2 separate regions of the Homo sapiens genome follow, and region 2 is linked to region 1. The links are contacts of gene promoters, found by promoter capture Hi-C in blood cells and fetal thymus (Javierre and others, 2016). All regions are on one chromosome and are shown on one strand. Each heading gives the region's core, a stretch centred on a gene start or on the middle of the fragment in contact. The rest is flanking DNA. Distances are from core to core; before and after follow the strand shown. Region 1 overlaps LOC105372066 (a long non-coding RNA gene). Region 2 holds the start of ZNF24 (zinc finger protein 24).

Evidence for each region. The method cuts DNA at HindIII sites, captures the fragments that hold promoters and counts their contacts. A CHiCAGO score of 5 or more calls a contact.
Region 2: the fragment with the promoter of ZNF24 here is called in contact with a fragment that was not itself captured in region 1 in 6 of 17 cell types (total B cells, naive CD4 T cells, fetal thymus and 3 more); the score reaches 7.7 in total B cells.

The regions. Positions count from the first base shown.
Region 1 is chr18:35,946,829-35,952,887 of GRCh38, reverse strand. LOC105372066 (a long non-coding RNA gene) reads left to right here. Exons shown (of 4, transcript NR_188032.1): 3 at 89-210; 4 at 851-1,085. Among named protein-coding and RNA genes, the nearest start is that of MIR3929, 16 kb to the right of the region's middle. The HindIII fragment of the contact is 2,468 bases long and covers 2,243-4,710 here.
Region 2 is chr18:35,342,412-35,348,576 of GRCh38, reverse strand. It overlaps ZNF24 (zinc finger protein 24), which reads left to right and starts at 4,157. Exons shown (of 4, transcript NM_006965.4): 1 at 4,157-4,217. It overlaps LOC124904283 (a long non-coding RNA gene), which reads right to left and starts at 4,523. Exons shown (of 2, transcript XR_007066337.1): 1 at 3,838-4,523; 2 at 1-2,149. RefSeq lists a silencer at 3,930-4,099 and an enhancer at 4,780-4,839. The HindIII fragment of the contact is 2,541 bases long and covers 3,823-6,165 here.

The DNA.
Region 1 (6,059 bases), core at 2,227-4,726:
TAAATCCAGTCTGACAATCTCTGTCTTTTTATTAGCATGTTTAGTGTATTTATGTTTAATATAGTCCTTTTATTTATTTATTTTGAAGACAGAGTCTTGCTCTATCCCCCAGGTGGGAGTGCAGTGGCATGATCTTGGCTCACTGCAACCTCCCCCTCCTGGGTTCAAGTGGTTCTCCTGCCTCAGCCTCTCGAGCATCTGGGATTACAGGTGTGTGCCACCACGCCCGGCTACTTTTTGTATTTTTAGTGGAGATGATGTTTCACCATGTTGGCCAGGCTGGTCTCGAACTCCTGGCCTCAAGTGATCCACGTGCCTTGGCCTCCCAAAGTGTTAGGATTACAGGCATGAGCCACTGTGCCTGGCCTAATTTTTTGTATTTTTGGTAGAGACGGGTTTTCACCATGTTGGCCAGGCTGGTTTTGAACTCCTGAGCTCAATCGATCCACCCACCCCGGCCTCCCAAAGTGCTGGGATTACAGGTCACCACACCTGGCTATATTTAATATAGTTATTGATGTTAAGCTGCGACATATTTGAGGGATCAGAGGGTAGATTCTGGTAGGCAGCTTAATGGCTACCTGAGGATGTCCACGTCCTATTCCCTGGCACCTATGAATACGTTACCTTACATGGCAAAAGAGATTTTGCAGATGTGATTAAGGTTACTGACTTAAAATGGGGAAGATTATCCTATCCTGGATAATCTAGGTGGGCCCAATCTAATCACACAAATCCTTAAAAGGGGAGAACTTTTCCAGGCTGGGTCAGAGAGATGAGATGGGAGGAAGAGGACAGATTTGAAGTGTGAGAGGAACTTGACTGATAGTTCCCGGCTTTGGTTTTGAAGATGGAGGAAGGAGGTCCCAAGCCAAGGAATGCAGCATGGGCCTCTAGAAGCTGGAATGACCCTCACCTCACGGCCAGCAAGAAATCAGGGAACTCAGTCTTACCCGAGTGAGCAGGAAATCGATTCTCCTCTGCAGCCTCTATAGAGAACACAGCCTGTCAACACCCTGATTTTGGCCCAATGAGCCCTGTACCTCCAGAAGTGTAACGTAATAAATTTGTGTTGTTTTAAGCTATTAAGCTGTGGTTAATTTGTTATGGCGCCAAGAGAAAACTAACATGACACATACTTCTCTATATATTCTTCCCTTCTAGAATTACCTCTTCCCAATTTTCCTTTTTTTTTTTTTTTTTTTTAGACAAGGTCTCCCTCTGTCACCCAGGCTGGAGTGCAGTGGCACTATCTTGGCTCACTGCAGCCTCCACCTCCTGGGTTCCAGCAATTCTCATGCCTCAGCCTCCCGAGTAGCTGGGATTACAGGTATCTGCCACCATGCCCAGCTAATTTTTTGTGTTTTTAGTAGACAGGATTTCGCCATGTTGGCCAGGCTGGTCTCGAACTCCCGGCCTCAGGTGATCTGCCCACCTCGGCCTCCCAAAGTGCTGGGATTACAAGTGTGAGCCACCACTCCTGGCCCCAATTTTCCAATTCTACTAGTCTCAAACTCTGTTTTCTGTCCACTTCAAGTCAATCAAGCGATGGCTCTCTGCAGCTGGAGCTGCTCACTGATTGGGGGTTGCCCTCATGTCAAAAGCCATAAACTCACAAATCCCAACAATTTTCATTCATTTTTCAAGGGTGGTTTTCCTACAGTTTCTGCCTTCTTTTGATCAATCTCTAATACCTTCACACATTATTTTAAAAATGCTTTGCTCAGATTGTATAATTTTTATTTTATTTTATTTATTTTTTTTGAGACAGAGTCTTACTCTGTCGCCCAGGTGGTGCACCACCTCGCCCACCTAATTTTTTTCTCTTGTTTGGTATTTCTAGTAGAGACGGGGTTTCACCATGTTGACCAGACTAGTCTCAAACTCTTGACCTTAAGTGATTCGCCTGCCTTGGCCTTCCTAAGTGCTGGGATTACAGGAGTAAGCCACGGAGCCCAGCCAGATTGTATAACTTTTATCTGCAAGAAGATTAGTCCACCGTTACCAAAAGCTGGAACCTCATTATACTCTTCTGCCTACTTTCACGTTTGCAATTTTCCATAATTTAAAAAGAGAAAAAAAATTTTAAACGCTCTAGTGGGATGTTTTAATTTTACTTATTCTCATTAATCTGAAGCCTAAAAATGAGTTGCTATCTCTTAATGTGACAGTTGAAATAAAAGAAACGGAATAAAAGGGGGAGTTTTCGAAGCCTTTGATGGGGGAGGAAAGACCCCAAGCTTCTCTCCTTAGAGGGAAGGAATCCTTACTTACAGGTTAGTTCCACCACGTGCAGTTCCTCACAGTGACCAGCAGGGGGAAAAAGTAGTTTTGCGTTTCCGATGGATCCCTGCGCCCCGCTGCCAATTCCCCAAGCAAAGGGAAGCGAGGGGAGAGCGCGGAGCCCCCGATTAGCGTTCGGAGGAACTGGCCTAGAGGGGCCACTCGGAGCGCAAAGGCCCCGCGAAATAGAATATCTATACGCCCAGCAACCCTCCCTTTCGAGGCGCACGGAATAAGTTGGCTGGAACTCTCCGCTGACCGCTCCGCCTGGGACTCAGGGTTGCAGCCGCACAGAGCTTCCTCCGGGGCGCCCAGGGCGGCGCGAGCAGGAGGGGGACCCAGTGTGGCCGCGCCCGGGAACTCGGGGGACCAGGTGAGGCTGCGCCCGGGTCCCAGTGGGATCCAGATGAGCGTACGCCCAAGCCCGCGGGGGACCAGGTGAGCCCGCGCCCGGGTCTGAGTGGGATCCAGGTGAGCCAGCGTCCAGCGTCTCCAGGGTCTGGGGCAGGGTCGTCGGGCTTAGGACTCAAGCAGTCAGCGGGCAGAATGGGTTGGCGTGGAGAGCCAGACGCGCTCAGGATCCAGGCGATGGGCCTGGGCATAGCCGTGTCTGCAAGGGCTGTCGTCAGGGGATCGTCGAGAGGACCTGCTTCTACCTAGTGGATTCACAGTACTACCCATAAAAATAAACCCTGCTAATGAGACGGTGTGTGGGAAGGGGGTGGGAGCATGGTCATTTTATTAGAGCTGAGCATTAATAATTTCCTTGAGGACCTTGGGCAAACTCTTTGTTTTGAAGCCAGTGGAGGCCTGGGTCAGTGTCCCTGAGTTCTGAGTTAACTGCGTGGACAAATGATGAGAAACAGCCATCACTTTAGGGATGTTTTAAGAGAAAGTCGGTGTGTGCTGAAACAGTGAGTTAGAGAGACTGGGAACAGAAAGCAAAGACCAGAAAGACAAGAAGCAAACATATGGGAAGTCAAAAAAGGAAATTGCCTGGAAATAAAGCCAGATGGGTCTGGCAGGAGTGCTGTCTTGGTTGACATCTGTGGGACATGACCCTGGACAGATCACTGGAGTCAGAGGAGGTCATTAATTAAGAATCCGCTGGTTATCCTTGGTGTTTTAAGGTTACCACGGTAGAAATAGAAACGTGTGCAGCACATAGTCAACAAGTTTTGGCAAATGACCAAATAAGATACAAACATTTAATTGGATTAGGAGATCAGTTGCAAAGTGTTGTGTTTCTATGCCATGATGAACATTCAGAGTGGAATCTCTAGAAAAATGCTTTGTGTAAATGATTAGACTGTAGGGCTAAGGTGTTGCAAAACAGTACAGTAAGTTATTTACTCTTTTTTTTTTTTGAGACGGAGCCTCACTCTGTTGCCCAGGCTGGAGGGTAGTGGCTTGATCTCGGCTCACTGCAACCTCCGCCTCCCGGGTTCAAGCAGTAAATTATTTACTTTTAGTCTCAATAATACTGTGTGTATCAGTAATAATCTAATTACATTTATTTCAAGAAGGTGTCCATTTGTTTTAGACAGGTAATTACTAGTTTAAAATAGATGGGAATATAAAACATTCCGATAATTTGAAATATAGGCTAAAGTCAAGTAAAACATTTGCAAAACCATACATGAAAATGGTAAAATAAGAGCAGACCAAGTTCAGCTAGTTTTCAAAAAAATATAGAATGCCACTCTTTCCCCTGTTCTTGTACTTGAGGGTTGAGGAGCTGTTTGTTGTTGCAGGCTCACACCTGTGTGTCCGAGTCAGGCCTGCAAAACCTGTGTGTCCCACTTCTCAATTTACCCAGTTCTGGGGTCCTTCTCTGCACACCTGTGAAAAGACATCTTATTCTTGTGGTTTAAAACTTGCCGGCCGGGCGCGGTGGCTTATGCCTGTAATCCCAGCGCTTTGGGAGCCCGAGGCGGGTGGATCACGAGGTCAAGAGATTGAGACCATCCTGGCCAACATGGTGAAACCCCGTCTCTACTAAAAATACAAAAATTAACTGGGCGTGGTGGCACATACCTGTAATCCCATCTACTTGGGAGGCTGAGGTAGGAGAATCACTTGAACCCGGGAGGCAGAGGTTGCAGTGAGTCGAGATCGTGCAGTTGCACTCCAGCCTGGGTGACAAGAGCCAAACTCCGTCTCAAAAAAAACCCAACCAACCAGCCAAACAAACAAAAACTTGCCTATACTGCTTGGTGTTTTAAAAAATTTGGAAGGGGGAGGAAAAGACAGGTTATTCTTCCATGAATCAGACACAGCAACTGAACCTCAATTGTTGGGGAGGGATTGATTGCTGAATGAAAAAACTAGGTGGGAGGCAGGAGGGGGTGGATATGATGACCTCATTTGAACTTTGCATGCTATTTCTTCTTAAACGGTGAGGAGTTTAGAAAAAGTACTCAAGCTTAGTTTTGGCGGAAAGGCATTAATAGTATTTTCTCAAGCAGTGTTTGTACAGAATTATTAAGGAGCCCCCTAACATTTTCTCATAAGCCCCCAGGAACGGATTCCTTGTACCTCAGAGGCAAGGTACTTGCCAATAAGCCTTTAGCTTGAGGCTTGCTGTAATATATTTTATAAGACTGTAATGGAACTTAGCAATTTAATCAGAGTATGTGCTTCTCGTTATATTCTTAAAAAATACAACGCATCAGCAAATGTTGCATTATGGGCTATGAAATTCCTTCTGTTAGTTGTTCACATTTTAGCCTGTGCCCACTGTGTTTTGTATGATGGACAAACCAAATAATCATTATGTAAGTAAGGTAGAGCTTTATATTTTTTCCAATGTGTAAACACTCTGTAAATAGGCAGTCCTTGGTGGGTGTGGCAGCTCCCCTAGCTCATCAGGAACCTGGACTCCTCTCTTTCTTCTCTGCTATCCTCAGTGTGTAGTTCTCATCTTTCAGGCTGCCTGGTGGTTGCAAGATGACTGCTGAAGTTCTAGTCATGACACTCATGTTCTAGGCAGGAAGTAGGAAGAAAGGGAGAAGGTAGCTGAATACAATTTAACAACTTCCATTTAAATTTTGTGGTAGAATGTCTGCAAAGATGGCTGCCAATAATTTTTGTAGGCTTAAGTCATTTTTTCCTGTCAAGAGGTATAGTCTGTTTCTCTTCTCCTTTAGTCAGGGCTGGCCCTATGACTTGCTTTGACCAATAGAATGTATTGGAAGGCCTTGCTAGGCTTTGCTGCTTCTGTTTACCCTCTTGGGATCCAGCTGCCATGTAAAGAAGCTTAGACTAGAATATATATATATATATATCTGGAATACAATGGTGTGAACACAGCTTACTGCAGCCTCAACCTCCCAGGCTCAGGTGATCCTCCCACCTCAGCTTCGATAGTAGCTGGGACTACAGGTGCACTTTACCATACTCAGCTAATTTTTTGTAGAGACAGGGTTTCGCCATTTTGCCCAGGTTGGTCTTGAACTCCTTGGCTCAAGTGATCCACCCACCTCGGCCTCCCAAAGTGCTGGGATTACAGGTGTGAGCCACCACAGCTGGCCCAGAGTAAACTATTGAATAATGAACAACTATGTGAAGAGAGGCCTAGCCAGTCCCCAGCTATTCCAAGTACCCCAGTTGAGGCATAAGTCACGTGTATGAAGCCATCTTGAGTGTACCAGTCCCAGTCAAACTCCACTTGATACCATGTGGGATGCAAGAACCACCCAGTTGAGCCCTGTCAACTTATAGAAATGATCAGAAATAGTAAATCATTGCTGAATTGTGCCGAAACACAATTAATT
Region 2 (6,165 bases), core at 2,908-5,407, 600 kb after region 1:
TGAAAAATTAATAAAATTGATAAGCCTCAAGCAAAACTTGAAGTCTTGATTAAGAAAAAAGAAACCAGAAATTAGCAATGTCAGGAATGAAAGAGGGGACATCCCTACAAACATTAAAAAGATATTAAGGAACTCACATTAATGATATTAAGGAAATAATTGTGAACAACTTTATGCCAATAAATCTGACAACTTAAATGAATTAGACAGATTTCTTCAAAGATACAAACCATTTCCCCTTATATCTCATGGACCAGAAATGAATCACATACTCATTCCTCGGTGCCAGCAAGGCAAAGCGAGGGTCTGGCACAGGGAAGCAGAATGGTCATGGATAGCTTAGCTCAATTACACTTTATTGCTTACAGCTGGGCACACTGTTCCCCCTCTCCATCCAAAAAAATCAGGAGTGTATTAGAAGCAAGGGAAAGCACTTTGTGTGGGAAGCTAACGATGCTTGCCTATTAGGTTTTCAGTCACTTGCAATCAAAAGACTCCTCATACTGTATACTTACTAGCTAAAATGGAATCTTTAAGCAATGTACTTAAAGTGCCCAGAGGGAGATACTTTTGAGCTGAAGGGGACTGAGAGCTCCAAAGCCTGGAAAAAAAATCAGTCTTGGATGGAATCTGATAACACCAAATCTGAAGGTCTATGCTTTCCTTCCAGTGTGAACACTTTTTTTTTTTTTTTGATCAGGATCTCACTCTGTCCACAAGGCTTAAGTACAGTGATGCGATCAGAGCTCACTGCATCCTCAACCCCTCAGGTTCAAGAAATCCTCCCACCTCAGTCTCCTGAGTACCTGGGACCAAAGGTGCAGGCCACTATGCCCAGCCTGAAAACTTTTCTGGCTGGCTTCCTCCATTTCAGGGTGCCTCCCTTCCCTCTTAGCACACTATCTCATTTAGGAGCCCTTACAGGCCTTCTGCTTTTCTCTACTGTAGCACTTCTACACTGCCTTGTGAATACTTGTTTTTTTCTGTTGTTGTTGTTTATTTCCTTAACAAGATGGTAATGTTAAAAGAAGGAATCAAACTGGACATGGTGGCTCACAACTGTACTCCTAGCGTTTTAGAAGGCTGAGGCGGGAGGATCCCTACCAGGAGTTCCAGGCTGCAGCAAGCTGTGATTATGCCACTGCACTCCAGCCTGGGCAACAGAGTGAGATCTCATCTCTTTTAAAGGGAAAAACAAAGACGGAATCATGACTTCATTTTATTCATCTCTATTATCTCTGGTACCCAGGTAGTATCTGTCTGGTCATTTTGTTCGTTTTACCATTAATTAATGAATCAGATGTTTGGTATCAAGGCAAGGTTGAAAGATTTGGCTGGTAAAGAAATGAACCCTTTTTGAATTTAGACATATTATTATTTGCACAGACATTGAAAGCAAAAGCAAGTGCCAGCTCTCCATGAGCTTTTGTCTCAGATACCAAAATGATGACACCAAAACAGAAGGGGCTGGATGACTACAGCATACACTGTGGACACCTTGTTGCTGAGGGGTTAATGCCATGCTGCAGCTAAGCCTTGTTATAACCTGCAGCTGTACTCTAAGAGGGTAAGGCAGAATGGCTCGTTGGAACCCAGGAAGCAATAGAAACTGCCTCATGATAGTCTCTTTGGAAGACAGAGAGCTGAGTGGGAAATGGCCTTGCACTAGCTGCTTACAAGCCTCTCATGCACTCATCTTCTGGGAAGATCCCAAGGTGTTCTGCCAAGACTCAGATCAGCTGTGGTTCAGGCATTGCCTATGTGGCCTATGTGGATATGTGCAAGGTTGTCAGGCCCGGGTATGAAGCTGCTCCCTCCATTCAGGTTGTCCAGAGGAACATGTTTTATCTTGACTAGATCTTTAAGATGGCAACAAGGGCCACCATTCAGGAAAAAATCCCAGAGGACCTCAGAAGGATGGTGTTTCAAAGCGGGTGTTAGTAGCCCCTGCCCTCAAAGGAGTAACTTAGTGAGGAAAACCTTACTGTGGTTTCCATTTAGTAGTTTACAAATAATTAATAATAATAGAATGGAGGCCAGGCACGGTGGCTCATGCCTGCAATCCTAGCAATTTAGGAGGCCAAGGCAGGAGGGTCACTTGTGCCCAGGAGTTGGAGAGCAGCCTGGGAAACATAGGAAGAACTCATCTCTGAAAAACAAACAAACAAACAAACAAATTAGCTGGGCATGGTGGAGCACACCTGTTGTTTAAGGACTTATCAAAAGTGTAAGTCCAGCCTTCCATAAGCATTTCAAGATAAATTATTACAGCATAAAATGGAGGCCTTTAAATAGGAGAATGAAGTGGTTTGATTTGTAATTTTAAATGATTGCATCAACAGCTGTTTTATGGTATAAAATGCCCAGTTAGGAGGCTGAGGCGGGAGGATCACTGAGTCTGGGAGGTTGAAGCTGCAGTGAGCCAAGACTGCACCATTGCCCTACAGCCTGGGTGACAGAGCAAGACCCTGTCTCAAAAACAAAACAAACAATATAATCACAGGAAAAGGGTTTTGTAAAATTTTGCAACATTTTTAACTTCCTCAAGGTTAGGTTTCAGATTTATTATTTTTGTTTTCCAACATTAATTAGATGTAAAAACTCTTAAAACAAAAATGCCTTCAGCTAGCCTTTACAAATCAGATAAGAGGGAAAGGTTGGGAAGAGCAGCCAAGTTGCTTAGGGGCCGTATCCAAGTAGCAGAGTGAAAAGGCTGTACTTCTGAAGCTTCCTGCAATGGAGAGAAGTGTTAGCAGGGGTTGTGAGAAGAGCTCTGGTCGGAATGAAAAGCAGTGGTATACCATCAGCTGCTCGCTCACTTGCTCTCTCATGCACGAATCCAGCGGAGCCTGACGGCACTTTTCAGAGGGCATTTTCTCCAATGAGGCAAAAAGTCAAAGCCTGAGGATCTTGAAATGCTTATGTTAGGCTGGATCTACACTTTTGACCAGTCCTTAAACAACAGGGCTCCTTTGTGTGGTGTCTGATGCCAATCATGTGACCTAGCTAAAGGCAGCAATGTAACCATCCCACAATTCATTTATTTATTCAACAAATATTTATTGAGTTCTCTATTTACCAGGCAGTCAGCTTCCAGGATCTAGGATGGGATACTGTGGTGAGCAAGACAGACAAGGTCCCTGCCCTTAAGGGACTTAAAGACAAAACAAAACAAAAAATAAAACAAGTAAATAAATGAGATCACTTCCATTAATAACAGTGCCATGAAGGGTCATGCGCCATGAAAGGCAGGTGGTGAGGCTGAGGATCTTGGGCCACAATGAGCCGAGGAGCTGAGGTGACTGGGGGCGCCAGGGTCTGGGGGTGCGGGCAGGCAACAGACCACAGGGGACTTACAGGCCATTATAAGGAGTTTTTATGTCATAAATTATTATGACATAAATTGGAGGGCTTTAAATAGGGGAGTGAAGTGGTCTGATTTGTAATTTTAAATGATCGCGTCAGCAGTTGTTTTATGGTATAAAATGCCCAGCTTTAAGATGACCATGCATTCTACAAATTCACCGTGACATCACTGCCAAAACTCTTAACCTGTCTTATCTAGTTTTCCTGACAGATAAATAGGTCGGAATAAAGCTCCATGACATAACTAGTGGGAGCCAAAGATTTGAATCACGTCTTGGTTTCAAATCTTGCTACCCACAAATGAGTTGTGAGCTCTTGTCAGGTTATTTACTGTATTTGTGCCTCAACTATCTCAGCTGTGAAATGGGGATAATGAAAGTTCCTACATCATTTATTTGTGGAAAAAAAAATGACATGTAAAGCACGACGAGAGCGCCTGGCACAATGTAGTAAGCTTTCACAAACACTCACTTTCATTCCTTCTTGCAGGGGATTACTGAGAGGATCCACAAGATAATGCACGTGAAAGGGCTTGCGAAATTGTAAGGACTATCTTAATGGTAGAGTCCTCTTTATGTTTTCTTTTAAACGGTCCAGAGGACGCTGGGCTGTTCGAGGAGAGGCGCGAGGCCAAGCGCAGCCTCAATGCGGTCATTGTCGTGGGGCCGCCCCTCCCCCGCCCGGGGCGCTTCTCCATGGCAACGTGGGCTTTACCTCTCCCCGCCTCCTCAGGCCCGCAGACCGGAAGCAGCCCGCGCCGGGGGCTTCTGGGAAAAGGCTTGTGAACGGCGTTTCTGCGTCTGCCGTGGACAGCGAAGCTGCTGCGGTTCCTGAGCCGGAGGTTTGCGCCGGTGTGCGGGGAACGTTATGAGAGGGAGGGGGGACACCGGGCTAGGGTCTGCGGACCTCTTAGCAGGAGCCGGCGGGGAAGCCTGTCCGGGACCTTCCTCAGCTTCCCGGGAGGCGCGGGGAACAGGCCGCGGTCTCCGCGCCTAGCAGTTGTGGGGCGGGGAGGGGTAGGCGGCAGGCCTGCTTGGGTCTTCGGCATTTGCAGAGAGCTCTCTAACCCCCTGTGTCCTCCGAGACCCTCACCTTCCCCCTCCCCCACCGGCCGGTTTTGTTCTATTTCGAGGCCCTGGCGTCTCGCGGAGGGTTCTGGGAGTCGTGATGGGAGGGGGTGGTAGTGGGACGAGACTTGCGCGGGGCTTCTGGGATTTGTAGTCTCACCGGCCGCAGGCGGAAGTGCCGTGGTTCCGACGCTGTTGTCACAGGGTGGCCTTTGGTCATCTGAAATCCGCGGTCCTGAGTGCTGGGAAGAGGGGCTAGAGGACGTCGGGCCGGGGCCGGGGCCGGGGCCGGGATACACAGCAGGTCTATGCAGCAGTAAGGTGGGCGATCCACCTGGGACGAGGTACCCTGCCCAAACATTGTCGGGACCGTGGGCCTTCCCTCCATTTCCCACAAGCGGTATGCTCTACAGCATAAAAGGAAGAGAAAATTATGTAGAAATACTTGCACCGTTGATAAGCAGGGTCTTGGAATAGGAACGAATGAATGTTGGCTAGACCTTATGTATAAGGCCACCACACTCCAGGGTATTTAATTAAACCAGTATGTATTACTTGTCTGATAAGGCCTTTTCTGATTCTAGTCTTCATCTTGCTTGGGTTACAATAAGTTTTTTTAAGTTGTTATTGTTCAGATTTTGGGCCCTGAATAAATAAATAGGCTGAATGGCTCATTGCTAGTATGTGTCGTAAACAACAGCACGGGCATGATCGTGCAAATAATAAAGGTCCAGAAGCAGTATACAGTTTCACTGAAGGTAGAAGCTGGGGAAACTGTGAGTCCTCCAGTGTAAGGACAAGACACTGGACCACTGCAGGAAGTCAAGGTGCTTATGCGAGTGCCTTTTCTTAATAGAAGTTTCTGTGATTAATGCCTATCATTATAAATATAAATGTACGTATGGTGTGGTGGAAGACTGAATATTTACGTATTATGTGCAAGATAATTTTTCAAAATTATGTGATGTTTTTCACATATGATCTTTTCAATATTATGTGATCTGCTACTCAGCAAGTGAACATTTTTTCACATATAAGTCCAAGGAGTTCTTAAACACCTTAAAAATATTTTTTAAATGGTAAAGAAAATTTTTTTAAGCACATAATAATAAAGCGAACCTTCCTTTTGAGTTGACTTGTGTGTGTCAGGAAACACCAATCCTGAATTGGAAATAATGCGTTCCAGGGTCAGGCACATTTAGAAAGCACTGAAGTAGTCTGGTTCTTACTTGGATTCTTTTGATTATTGACATAGGGTTTGTCGTCTTAGTAGGTCATGATTGGCAAACTTTTTCTGTAAGCGGCCATATAGTAAATAAGGTCATGCATAACTCAACGATAGTGCTATGGTCTGAGAAATATGTTAGGCTATTTCATCCTTGTGTGAACGTCATAGAATGTACTTGCACAAACCTAAATGGCGTAGCCTACTACACACTTAGGCTATCTGGTATAGCCTATTGCGCCTAGGCTACAAACCGGTACGGCATGTTGCTGTACTGAATACTGTAGAGAATTGTAACACAATGCTAACTATTTGTGTATCAAAACATAGAAAAGATAAGAGTAAAATATGATATAAAATGTTTGAAAAAAAAAAAAGATATGCCTGTACAGGGCACTTACCATGAATGGACCTCGCTGGATTGGAAGTTGCTCTAAGAAGTCAGTGAGTGAGTGGTGAATTTGGAGGCCTGGGACATTATTGTACATTCCTATAGACCATATAAAC